Linked DNA regions of Homo sapiens: all the other regions are linked to region 1. Evidence: promoter capture Hi-C in 16 types of primary human blood cells and fetal thymus (Javierre and others, 2016). All regions are on one chromosome and are shown on one strand. Each heading gives the region's core, a stretch centred on a gene start or on the middle of the fragment in contact. The rest is flanking DNA. Distances are from core to core; before and after follow the strand shown. Region 1 holds the start of ZNF846 (zinc finger protein 846). Region 2 holds the start of ZNF426 (zinc finger protein 426). Region 3 overlaps ZNF561 (zinc finger protein 561). Region 4 overlaps ZNF561-AS1 (ZNF561 antisense RNA 1).

The links. Contacts are between HindIII fragments. The CHiCAGO score rates a contact against its expected background, and 5 or more counts as called.
Region 2: a contact is called between the fragment with the promoter of ZNF426 here and the fragment with the promoter of ZNF846 in region 1, in 5 of 17 cell types (naive CD8 T cells, total B cells, total CD4 T cells and 2 more). The highest score is 9.3, in naive CD8 T cells.
Region 3: a fragment that was not itself captured here is called in contact with the fragment with the promoter of ZNF846 in region 1 in 1 of 17 cell types (naive CD4 T cells); the score reaches 5.0 in naive CD4 T cells.
Region 4: a contact is called between a fragment that was not itself captured here and the fragment with the promoter of ZNF846 in region 1, in 16 of 17 cell types (non-activated CD4 T cells, fetal thymus, megakaryocytes and 13 more). The highest score is 9.9, in non-activated CD4 T cells.

The regions. Positions count from the first base shown.
Region 1 is chr19:9,767,049-9,770,273 of GRCh38, forward strand. ZNF846 (zinc finger protein 846) reads right to left here and starts at 1,690. Exons shown (of 6, transcript NM_001077624.3): 1 at 1,241-1,690. RefSeq lists a silencer at 1,505-1,674 and enhancers at 1,618-2,483, 1,755-1,974. The HindIII fragment of the contact is 9,482 bases long and covers 1-3,225 here.
Region 2 is chr19:9,536,924-9,540,148 of GRCh38, forward strand. It overlaps ZNF426 (zinc finger protein 426), which reads right to left and starts at 1,722. Exons shown (of 8, transcript NM_024106.3): 1 at 1,652-1,722; 2 at 1,336-1,422. It overlaps ZNF426-DT (ZNF426 divergent transcript), which reads left to right and starts at 1,743. Exons shown (of 2, transcript NR_134921.1): 1 at 1,743-2,075; 2 at 2,483-2,807. RefSeq lists enhancers at 1,028-1,763, 1,770-1,819, 2,020-2,089, 2,744-3,225. The HindIII fragment of the contact is 12,585 bases long and covers 1-3,225 here.
Region 3 is chr19:9,611,768-9,614,992 of GRCh38, forward strand. It overlaps ZNF561 (zinc finger protein 561), which reads right to left. Exons shown (of 6, transcript NM_152289.3): 5 at 2,254-2,336. Among named protein-coding and RNA genes, the nearest start is that of ZNF561, 7.9 kb to the right of the region's middle. The HindIII fragment of the contact is 9,023 bases long and covers 1-3,225 here.
Region 4 is chr19:9,628,144-9,631,368 of GRCh38, forward strand. All of the region lies in intron 2 of ZNF561-AS1 (ZNF561 antisense RNA 1), which reads left to right. Among named protein-coding and RNA genes, the nearest start is that of ZNF561-AS1, 8.3 kb to the left of the region's middle. The HindIII fragment of the contact is 4,891 bases long and covers 1-3,225 here.

The DNA of each region.
Region 1 (3,225 bases), core at 440-2,939:
ACTCATAGCTTCAGTGGCTCCTCCTGCTTCTGCTTCCCAAAGTGCTGGGATTACAGGGGTGAGCCACTGTGCCCGGCCTAGTTTTATTTATTTATTTATTTATTTAGACGGTGTTTTGCTCTTGTTGCCCAGGCTGTAGTGCATTGCCACGATCTCAGCTCACCACAACCTCTGCCTCCCGGGTTCAAGCGATTCTCCTGCCTCAGCCTCCCGAGTAGCTAAGATTACAGGCATGCCCCACCACACCTGGCTAATTTTGTATTTTTAGTAGAGACAGGGTTTCTCCATGTTGGTCGGGCTGGTCTGGAACTCCCAACCTCAGGTGAACCGCCCACCTCGGCCTCCCAAAGTGCCAGGATTACAGGTGTTTAAGTTACCGCACCCGGCCAATACACATTGATCTACACAAGAGATGCAAAGAAACAGAAAACATGCAAAATATTAACAAATGATCAGTCTACAACAAGGATATATAATAGGTGTTCAATATTCTGGCCTTTCACATTTTCTTTGGTTTAGAATATTCAATCTACAGATAGCCTGGGCAACAAACCAAGACCCTGTCTTTAAAACGTAAATAAATAAATAAAAATATATGAGGGGGAAGGCCAGGCGCGGTGGCTTATACCTGTAATTCCAGCACTTTGGGAGTCCGAGGAGGGTGGATCACGAGGTCAGGAGTTCGAGACCAGCCCAACCAACATGGTGAAACCCCGTCTCTACTAAAAATGCAAAATTAGCCGGGCGTGGTGGCACATGCCTGTAATCCCAGTTACTCAGCATGCTGAGGCAGGAGAATCGCTTGGACCGGGAGACAGAGTTTACAGTGAGCCTATATCACGCCATTGCACTCCAGCCTGGGCAATAAGAGCGAAACTCCGTCTCAAAATATGTATATATACGAGAGGAAAAACGCTGAATCAAAACATGTCTCTTTCACAGTTAATACAACTGTAATTTCTGATACTGGTATAATGAAGGCGGCATCCTACTTCCTGGAAGCCCCTCCGTTTTGAAGCTCTTTGGGAGGTACTGACCTAGGAAGTTCAGCTGCTTTTGATCTCAAAAACACAGCGGAGTATTGCTACTTTGCTTTATAACTGTGGCAATATTTGCTTTTATTTCTATAAACCTACAACTCCTGCACACTTGACAAAGCATTTAACTGCTGAGCAATTTCGCAAACTTCAATAAGCGATGCCCTCCCACAGCCAGATCATCTCCTCCGTCCAGGGCTCACCGGAACGCACTGCAATCGCCCTGTCGGTGACAAGAGGACGCTGGGGCCCTTTTCCACAACAGCTGAGATGCTTTTCCTTCTGGAGAAAGGACACAAAGGTTGACTGGCTGCTTTTAAACAGAGGGGCACGGTGGTTGGAGAAAAAAACACGTCTCCACCGGGGACCCTGGGCCAGGCCCAGACTGATGCGGGCGCAGCGGGAAGAGGCGCTCAGAAGAGAAGGCGGGAACCCCCCGCCTCGGGGTCCTGGCGGGGAGGAGGCGCCGCTTCTCCGGAGCAGCAGCGGGAGGCCGGCGCGTCTCAGACCTAGCAGAAGTCCGGAGCGTCACCCTCCGACCCTCGCTCCGCCTCCCGCTAGGCCCTCCTGCCCCGCCCTGCCTAGGTTGAGCATGAGCGCTGGCTGAGGTGAAAACCCAGCTAGGAAGCTGCTGGAGAGCGGGGAATACGTATAGCTGCGCGCCGGCTGGCACTTCCGCTTCCGGTTGCGCACGGCATTAAGTGTAGGGGCCGAGCCCCAAGAGCTTTGGAATGAGGATGATGTGAAGCTGAGAGAAGAGCTGGGGCCACCTCTTCGACACGCGTACAGAAAAGTCCCGTTTTCTCGCATCCCAGGTGGACCAGGATCCAGATCAATCTGTCGATATTGGGAACGACGCCGGACCAGGAAACCCAGCGCCAAGGGCCGGGTTGGAGGCGGGGACTGGCGCAGCGGGCGGGGCACGCGTGGAGGCGTCACCTAAGGCTTCGATTGCAGACAGCGGGATGCTCATCGAGTGCTTTTCTTTTCTTTTTTAATTTCTCTTTTTAGTTTTTTGAGATAAGGCTCCGGTCTGTCGCCTAGGCTGGAGTGCAGTGGCTCGGTCATAGATCATTGCAGCCTGGAATTCCTGCGCTGAAGCTATCCTCCCGCCTCGGCCTCCGGAGTAGCTTGGACCACAGTTGGGCCCATCACGCCCAGCTAAGTTATCTTTTTCTAGACACTTGGGTCTCACTGTGTTCCCTAGGCTGGTCTCGAACTCCTGAGCCTAAAGGATCCTCCCCCCTCGGCCTCCCAAGCAGCTTGGACCACAGGTGTGTGCCACCACGCCTGGCTAATTTATTTTTATTTTATTTTTATTTTTTTGTAGAGACAGGGTCTCTCTTTGTTACCCAGGCTGATCTGGAACTCCTGGGCTCCAGTGATCCTTCCACCTTGGCCTCCCAAAGTGCTGGGATTATAGGCGTGAGCCACCACCCTAGGGAAATTCTTTTCTGCAGGATTTTCTCCTTGTTTCTTCAACCCTCTGCAGGGATATAAACATATTTACAAAGATAATCCCGCTGTAGTCCTAGCTACTGCGGGAGAATCGCTTGAGCCCAGGAGTTCGAGACCAGCGACACCCTGTTTGAAAGATTAACCTGATGGGGCTGGGGGCAGTGGCTCACGCCTGTAATCCCAGCACTTTGGGAAGCCGAGGCGGGTGGAACACGTGAGTTCAGGAGTTCGAGACCAGCCTGGCCAACATGCCGAAACCCCATCTCTACTAAAAATATTTTTTAAAAAATAGCCGGGTGTGGTGGTGGGCGCCTGTAATCCCAGCTACTCGAGAGGCTGAGGCAGGAGAATTGCTTGAACCTAGGAGACTGAGGTTGCAGTGAGCTGATACGATGCCACAGTACTCCAGCCTGGGCGACAGAGTGAGACTCCGTCTCAAAAAAAAAAAAAAAAAGATTAACCTGTTAATCCATAAAATGCTCTGTGCCTCTGATACATTCAGTTCCTTCTTTAGGCCTTTAGTTTTGTTGTGATACAATTATCATAGCATACAATTAACCTGTTTAAAGTGTACAGTTTCGTGGCTTTTTGTATATTCATATATTTGTGCATCGATCATCACAATCAATTTTAGAACATTTTCATGACCACAAAAATAAACCCAGTACCCTAGCCATGATCACCCAATCTGCTCATCCAGCCCCACCCCCACCCCCAGAGTCCAAAGCAA
Region 2 (3,225 bases), core at 472-2,971, 230 kb before region 1:
GGAGTTCAAGACCGGCCTAACCAACACGGTGAAACTCCATCTCTACTAAAAATACAAAAATTAGCCGGGCGTGGTGTGCGGCTGTAATCCCAGCTACTCAGGAGGCTGAGGCAGGAGAATCGCTTGATCCTGGGAAATGGAAGTTGCAGGGAGCTGAGATCACACCACTGCACTCCAGCCTAGGTGACAGAGCAAGACTCTGTCTCAAAAAAAAAATAATAATAATAATAATGACAATCATTAATTAATCAAACATGAAACAGTGGCTCAAACAATCACCTACAGAATGGGAGTCAAATGATGATAAACAGTGAAAGTTCCGCAGTTCATTATCCATGAACCAAATTCACAAAAACTCTATAGGCCTCCTTCTACCAATAAGACTAAAACCCTAAAGTCACAAAAACCACAGTTCTGGACTCCTGGTATAGATCACACCTACTCCCAGGGGTCTCAAACTAGGGGTCCTAGGGCTGACTAGGCCCACAAATATTCAGTTTGGTGGCATCTGTATAGAATATTTAACTCTTTTTTTTTTTTTTTTTTTGGAGAGATGGAGTCTTGCTATGTTGCCCAGGCTGGTCTTAAACTCCTGGGCTCAAGAGATCTTCCTGCCTCAGCCTCTCAAAGTGCTGGGATCACAGGTGTGAGCCACTGTACCCAGCCAGCTTTTTTTTTTTTTCATTGATATACAATCAATGTAGCTTAAAATGCACACATCCTTCGTTTCTCTTTTTTTTCTTTTGAGACGGAGGCTCACTCTGTCTCCCAGGCTGGAGTGCAGTGGCACGATCTCAGCTCACTGCAACGTCCGCCTCCTGGGTTCAAGTGATTCTCCTGCCTTAGTCTCCCAAATAGCTGAGATTCCAAGACCCCACCACCACGCTCGGCTAATTTTTTTTCTATTTTTAGTAGAGACGGGGTTTCACCATCTTAGCCAGGCTGGTTTCAAACTCCTTAATCCAACCATCCTGTTCATTGTAAATTTGATTATTGTGATACTAGAATAATAAAGCCTTCATCCTTTCCCTCTGGAGGTCTGATTAAGAAGCTCTCTTGGGATGTACAGGCCTAGGAACTCCATTCGAAGATAATGAATTATTATTCTTAGTATTCTTTAGCAGAAAGACTTGCGGTCTACAAACGTTTATATTCACATACACAAATACGCACACCCTATAAACCTAAAAAGCATCTTTATCTTTCGCCATGAAAGTAATGGTCAAAAATAAAACACAACACAATAAGACGAAACCAAACTTACAGATGAAACATTCGTTTGCATAAGAGAAGACAGAAAAGGCCCCCTAGAACCAACTTTCACCCAGTGCTCACCGGAACACTCAGAAATCGCCAGGTCCCTGAACCGGGAAGATCCTGGGGACGGAGCCAACGCGGATGCAAAAGGCAGCAATTATTTTCCTGCCGGAAAAAAATTCACAAACGCTGCTTTGGAGGCCTTTGGAGAGGGGCGCACAGATGAAAACACCCTGCGGACACCGTAACTATAAACCCGACTCCTCCCGAGGAGCGACGGTCCGAGCGGACGCTAGCGGGCCCAGCAGACACGAGCAGAGCGGGCCAGGCCTCTCTAACGTCCGGGCCAAACCCGTCCTTCACCCCAAAACCAGTTCATCTCCTCGGAACTCACCCAGGCCAGTGAGGCCTTAACTCTGAAAGGCAAAAAGACTCTCAGGCGCTCACAGCCGGCGTCACAAAAGGAACGGCGCACCGCTGACGTCATTTACGCTCTCCGCCTCGGGCCAGGCGGGGTTTCGGGACTAGGGTTTCTGCCGTGTAATACCTCCTCGAGGCAGAAAAATTCTACTTTCCATCTGCTTGGCTGCGGAGGACCTTGGGGTGGGCTCAGCGTGGGGGCTGCAGGCAGAAATGGGTCCAGAAGGCAAGGTCGAGGTTAGAGCCAAGCCTGTGGGCAGGGCTACGGGCAGGGGGCGGGGAGGAATGTGGGTCCAGGCCCAGAGGAAAAGGTTGAAGTTATAGCCAGGCCTGTGGGCGAGGCCGCAGCAGGGCGGCCATAGGGGAAGGAGCCAATGTGTTATGCATGTAGAAAATAGGTAACTACGTCTTTTGCTCTGTTACTATTTCAACATTTGATGTAAAAAACATTTTCTATGCAGCTAAAAGAATTGTTTTTAAAAATAATTTCTAGGTTTTCTGCCTTGCTTTAAAACATCTTTTCTTTTTTTTTGAGACAAAATCTCACTCTGTCACCAAGGCTGGAGTTCAGTGGAGCCATCTCAGCTCACTGCAACCTCCACCTCCCAGGTTCAAGCGATTCTCCTGCCTCATCCTCCCAAGTAGCTGGAATTACAGGTGCATGCTGCCACACCCTGCTAATTTTTGTATTTTTAGTAGAGGCAGGGTTTTGCCATGCTGGCCAGGCTGGTCTTGAACTACTTGTCAGGCCTCTGAGCCCAAGTTAAATCATCATAAACCCTGTCACCTGCACGTATACATCCAGATGGCCTGGAGCAACTGAAGAACCACAAAAGAAGTGAAACAGCCAGTTCCTGCCTTAACTGATGACGTTCCACCATTGTGATTTGTTGCTGCCCCACCCCAACTGATCTCTTGACCTTGTGACATTCTTCTTCTGGACGAGTCTCAGGAGTTCCCCACCGAGCACCTTGTGACCCCCGGCCCTGCCAGCAAAAGATAACCACCTTTAACTTTCCACTACCTACCCAAATCCTATAAAACTGCCCCACCCCTATCTCCCTTTGCTGACCCCTTTCTCGGACTCAGCCCACTTGCACCCAAGTGAATAAACAGCCTTGTTGCTAACACAAAGCCTATTGGTGGTCTCTTCACATGGATGTGTGTAACATTTGGTTCCGAAACCTGGGACAGGGGGACTCCCTTGGGAGACTGGCCCCGTCCTCACCCTCACTCCGTGAGGAGCTCCACCTACTACCTCGGGTCCTCAGACTAGCCCAAGGAACATCTCACCAATTTCAAATTGGGTAAGCAGTCTCTTCACTCTCTTCTCCAGCCTCTCTCACTACCCTTCCATCTCTCTGTCCTTCCAATTCCAGTTCTTTTTCCTCTCCAGTAGAGACAAAGGAGACACATTTTATCTGTGGACCCAAAACTCCAGCTCCAGTCACGGACTCAGGAAGACAGTCTTTCCTTGGTGGCTAATCACTGTAGGGATACCTGCCTGATTATTCACCTACATTCCATTGGTGTCTGATCACTGTGGGG
Region 3 (3,225 bases), core at 342-2,841, 160 kb before region 1:
GGTTTTGCTCCATTGCCTGGACTATAGTGCACTGGTGTGATCATGGCTCTCTGTAACCTCAAACTCCTGGCTGAGTTCAAGTGATCATCCTGCCTTAGCTTCCTGTGTAGCTAGAACTATTTGAATGCACCCTCATGTCTGGCCAATCTTTCAGTTTGTTTGTTTATTTATTTATTTAGAGACAGAGTCTTGCTCTGTAGCCCAGGCTGGAGTGCAATGGCATGATTTCGGCTCGTTGCAAACTCTGCCTCCCAGGTTCAAGTGATTCTCCTGCCTCAGCCTCCTGAGTAGCTGGGATTACAGGCATGGGTCACCATGCCTGGCTAATTTTTGTAGTTTTAGTAGAGACAGGGTTTCACCATGTTGGCCAGGCTGGTTTTGAACCCCTGACCTCAGATGATCTGCCTGCCTTGGCCTCCCAAAGTGCTGAGATTACAGGGGTGAGCCACCATGCCCCACCTCAGTTTATTTATTTTTGAGATGTAGTCTCACTTTGGCTGGAGTGCAAGTGGCGAGATCTTGGCTCACTGCAACCTCCACCTCCTAGGCTCAAGTGATTCTCATGCATCAGCCTCGCGAATAGCTGGGATTACAGGCAGGTGTAGCCACATCCAGCTAATTTTGTTATTTTTTGTAGAGATGGGGTTTCCCCATGTTCGCCAGGCTGGTCTTGAACTGCTGACCTCATGATCTGCCTGCCTCAACCTCCCAAATTGCTGGGATTACAGGCGTGAGCCACCACACCCAGCCTCAATTTATTTTTATAGAGACAAAGTCTTACTATGTAGCCTAGGCTGATCTCAAACTCTTCACAAAACCCCACTGCCTCAGCCTCCCAAAGTGCTGGGATTACAGCCATGAGCTACCATGTCAGCCTACTTTGATAATTATAATTTTTACAATTTTTCTTCCTTGTTTTTATTCCCTGACTTCTTGATTTCTTCCAGATTGAATGATGGGCCCTTTTGCCAGAATTCTACGCCACTGGCTCTAATTGTTCAAAAAAAGAAAACTGTAGGGTTTTTTTATTATTATGCAGGGTGGTTTGAGACAAGGTCTCACTCTGTCACCCAGGCTGGGTACCATGGCATAATCACAGCTCACTGTGGCCTTAATCTCCCAGGCTGAAGCCATCATCCTGCCTCAGTCCCCCAAGGAGCTTGGATTACAGGTGCATGCCAACACGCCCTGCTAATTTTTTATTCCTTGTAGAGACAGGGTCTCTGTTGACCAGGCTGGTCTTGAACTCCTAGGCTCAAGTGATTCTCCTGCCTCAGCTTCCCAAAGTGCTGGGATTACAGGTGTCAGCCATTGCACCCAGTCAAATAGTGTAGATTTTCATGAAACTGTGTAAATCCTCAATGTCTAGTTACTTATGTGGGAATGTGTACTTGTGGGTATTTTGAGGTGACAAGTTATACAGATATGGAATATCATAAAATTCATCACATTCAGACTATCTCTCCAGAGATCCTGCTCCCTCAGTGGTGCAGAATTCTTCTCTAATTCTCTCAAGTATCTCTCATTTGTGCAGTTTCTTTTTCACTGCAAACTCCACCTCCTGGGTTTAAGCAATTCTGCCTCAGCCTCCCATGTATCTGGGATTACAGGTGCCTGCCACCACACCTGGCTAACTTTGTATTTTTAGTAGAGATAAGAGTTTCATTACATTGGCCAGGCTGGTCTCGAAGTGCTAATCTCAAGTGATCCACGTGCCTAGGCCTCCCAAAGGGATGGGATTACAGACTCAGTTTCTTTTCTTTATTTCTGAGACAGAGTCTCACTCGGTCAACCAGGCTGGAATGCAGTGGTGCAATCTCAGCTCATTGCAACCTCTGCCTCTGTGTTCATGCCATTCTCCTGTCTCAGCCTCCCAAGTAACTGGTATGACAGGTGCCCACCACCACACTCGGCTAATTTTGTATTCTTAGTAGAGATGGAGTTTCACCATGTCGGCCAGCCTGGTCTCAAACTCCTGACCTCAAGTGATCCACCCATCTCGGCCTCCCAAAATGTTGGGATTACAGGTGTGAGTCACCACATTCACCTTCTTTTTAAAATCAGAGATGGGATCTTACTATACTGCCTAGGCTGGTCTTGAACTCTTGGGCTCAAATGAGACCCCCACTTCAGCCTCCCAAATAGCTGGGATTACAGATGTAAGCCACACCTCTGACTGAGCTGATTTTCTAGAATGGAATTCTCTATCTTTTCTAAGAGAGGAAATTAAGAAATATCCCTCATGAATCTTACCATTTGTATCCCACTGAATATTTGATTCTTCAAAAAACCCTGCTGAAGTGATGACCGTTTGGTTCTAGGTTGTATTTCCCATTCTAAAGTTAAGCAGAAAAAGAAACGTAAGGATTTAGAGAAGAAATATTCATTTAAAATGAGTCATTTTTACTTGTTTTCAAATTAAACACAGCAATAAAATAAAAGCCAGAGAACCTTGAGGATTTTGGTACATCAAAAATTTGGCTATAATGATGTGGGGTTTATTACATAACTGATGTGTTTAGATAGTTTATTACAAACTACTTCTGTAAAAATTAAAAATGCCGGGAGTGGTGGCTCACACCTGTAATCCCAGCACTTTGGGAGGCTGAGGCGGGTGGATCACTTGAGGTCAGGAGTTCGAGACCAGCCTGACCAACATGGAGAAACCCCATCTCTACTAAAAATACAAAATTAGCCAGGCATGGTGGCGCATGCCTATAATCCCAGCTACTTGTGAGGCTGAGGCAGTATTGCTTGAACCTGGGAGGCAGAAGTTGCAGTGAGCTGAGATCATGCCATTGCACTCCAGCCTGGGTGACAGAGCAAGACTTCAGAAAAGAAAAGAAAATTAAAGCTGATGGAAAACAGAAAGAGTAGATTTTCGGGAAAGGAAAGTAGGAAAGATCTAGATAAACAGCATGTATCAGAATGATAAAGTTAACAAAGAAACAGAACAGGTAGTTTTATTAGATCATAGGAATGTTTGACAAGATGGAAAATAAGAGTCAAAGATATCCAAAACTCTGAGAAAAATAGCTTAAATCTTCTGAGGCAAAGTGCATCTTTAAAAATCTTTTTTTTTTTTTTTTGAGATGAAGTGTCACTCTGTCACCCACACTGGAGCGCAGTGGCACAATGTTGGCTCAATGCAACCTCTGCCTTCTGTGTTGAAGTGATTCTCCTGCCTCAGCCTCTTGACTAGCTGGGACTAAAGGCGTGTGCCAC
Region 4 (3,225 bases), core at 486-2,985, 140 kb before region 1:
AGCTCAGAAGTCAGAAACTTCAAAAGGGAACTCAAACCATTGTTAGATGACCCTTATTGGGTAGCAGATCAAATTGATCAATTTTTAGGGCCACAGTTGTATACTTGGGCTGAACTAATGTCCATTTTAGATATTCTTTTCTCAGGGGAGGAAAGGACTGTGATCCACAGGGCCACTGTGATAGTCAGGGAACGTGAACATCCTCCTGGCCAAAACGTTCTGCAGCGGACCAAAAATTTCTGTTCCAAGACCCTCAATGGGACAATCACAATGCAGCTCACCAAGAAAATATGAGGGATCTCGGGGAAATGATAATTAAAGGAATTCGGGAACCAGTACCCTGAACTCAAAATATTTCCCGAGCATTCAACATACAACAAAGAAAGGAAGAAGAGCTCATGGAATTTTTAAACAGACTCTAAGAGCAAGTTAGAAAATACGCAGGCTTAGAAATAAGAAGATCCACTTCGGCAAGGATTGTTAAAACTCCACTTTGTCACCAACATTTGGCCAGAAATTACAAAAAAATTGTCAAAAAAATAGAGAATTGGAAAGATAGCTCCATAGAAGAACTTCTAAAGGAGGCCCAAAAGGTATATATGAGAAAAGACAAGGAAAGCAGAAACAAAAAGCAAAAATTCCACTGCCCACCCTTCAACAAGGGACACAAGGAAATAGGTCCCATAAATGTTCTAAGCCACTAGCTGCAAAGTCACATACAGGAAAGAAAAGGGATAAAACCTGGGGACCTAACGGCAAGAAGGGAAAAGGGGGAAAATAAATGTTTCAGATGTGGGAAACTGGGACACTTTAAGACAGAATGTCCCGAATGAGAAAGAGAGAGAAATCCTCCCACTCATGACTTTTGAAGAAGAATAGGGGGTTCAGAGGCTCTGTCTCTTTTATCTCAAATCCCACCAATAGCCCTTGATAAATCTACAGGTGGGACCCAAGCTAGAAATTTTCACTTTCCTAATAGATTCAGGAGTAGCTCGCTCCTCTGTTTGCTACCTTTCATCAAATGTAGCCTGCTCTGCAGAGGAGCTGTTCGTCACGGTGGTAAAGGGGGAAAGGTTTAGAACAAAAATTTTGGAGGAAACAGAAGTTAAATTCAAGAATAGATCAGCCGCCATTAAATTCATGTTAATCCCTGATGCAGGGACAAATTCGTTAGGAAGGGACTTAATGTTTAAATTGGGGATAGGTCTATATGTTAATCAGGGAAAATTATTTACTTCCTTAAACTTGCTTACCGCCCCTAAAGAAAGCCAAATCCACCCTGATGTGTGGTTAAAGGAGGGAAATCAAGGAAGATTCAAGTTCCGCCAATTCATATAAAACGAAAACCTCCTGGGGAAATAGTAAAAAGAAAACAACACCCCATTCCCCTAGAAGGCAGAATGGGTTTAAAACCTATAATCAAAGGTCTCATCCATGACAGACTCCTTGAACCCTGTATGCCTCCTTATAACACTCTAATGTTGCCTGTAAAAAAGTCACATGGATCACGGCTAGTGCAAGATATCTGGGCTATTAACCAAATAGTCCAGACTACTCACCCTGTGGTCCCCAACCCTTATACCATTATCAGCAAAATCCCATATGACCACCAATGGTTCATGGTAATAGACCTAAAAGATGCCTTTTGGGCTTGCCCCTTAGCAGAGGACAGCCAGGACATGTTTGCTTTCAAATGGGAGGACCCTCACTCCAGTTGGAAGCAACAGTACTGATGGACAGTCCTGCCCCAAGAGTTTGTGGACTCCCCAAATCTATTTGGTCAAATTCTAGAACAAGTCCTAGAGAATTTTCCCCTCCCCTCATCCATATATCCGCTCCAATATGTGGATGACCTGCTAATTTCAGGAGGCACCAAGGGCTGGGTAACAGCAGTATCAATTAACTTTCTAAATTTTCTGAGGGAACGCGGATTGCTGGTCTCAAGGAGTAAACTCGTTTGTGGAACCTGAGATAAAATACCTAGGATACTTAATAAGCAAAGGCAAACAGAGATTAGGCCCCAAACGAACTGAAGGAATCATAGCCGTACCTTTGCCTGAAACAAAATAAGGGCTTAGGAAATTCTGGGGGTTGACTGGATATTGTCGCTTATGGATTGACTTTATGCTTTAAAAACAAAGCCTCTATGCCTGAAACTTACTCAAGAGAGACCTGATCCTCTTCTTTGGACACCACGGGAGGTCCAACAAGTAGAGGAATTAAAACACCTGCTCATAACTGCCTTAGTTCTACCTTCCCTAGAACAGCCATTCCACCTCTTCGTCAATGTGAATAAAGGGATAGCTCTAGGGGTGCTCACCCAAACACACGGGGGCCACCGGCAGCCTATAGCCTTTCTGTCAAAAATTCTTGACCCACTAACCCACAGGTGGCCCGAGTGTATTTAATCTGTTGCAGCAACTGCCCTATTTACAGAGGAAAGCAGGAAGATAACCTTTGGGGGAAACCTCACTGTAAACACAACCCATCAGGTTAGAACCATCCTAAACCAAAAAGCAGGCAGATGGCTTACCGATTCAAGAATCTTAAAATATGAAGCTATCTTACTAGAAAAAGATGATTTAACCCTAACCACAGAAAAAACACTCAACCCTGCCGCTTTCCTAATGGGAAATCCAATCCCCAGGACCCTGAACATAAATGTCTGGATCTAATCTGTTATCAAACTAAAGTCAGGCTTGATCTAAGCGAGACCCCATTCAAAACGGGGCAACACCTGTTTATAGATGGCTCCTCCCAGGTATTTGAAGAGAAAAGACACAATGGGTACTCGGTAGTCAATGGGGAAGCCCTCACAGAGGTAAAGTCAGGAAGACTGCCCAATAACTGGTCCACCCAAACATGTGAATTGTTCACATTAAATCAAGCCATAACTGGGAAAGGGACTATTTACACTGACTCCAAATATGCCTTCGGGGTAGTCCATACTTTTGGAAAGATCTGGACTGAATAAAAGGCCAGGACCTTGTCCACAAGGAGTTAATCACTCAGGTATTGGAAAATCTCCAGCTACCAGAAGAGATAGCCATCCTGCGTGTCCCAGGACACCAGAGAAATATTTCTTTCAAAAGCCAAGGAAATAAACTTGCAGACCAAATAGCCAAACAAGCTGCCTCTTCTCCCAAAATGCCCATTTTTCACCTAACCCCTTGTCTTTCTTCCCCAACTGCAATTCACATCTTCTCTCCCACTGAAAAAGAGAAA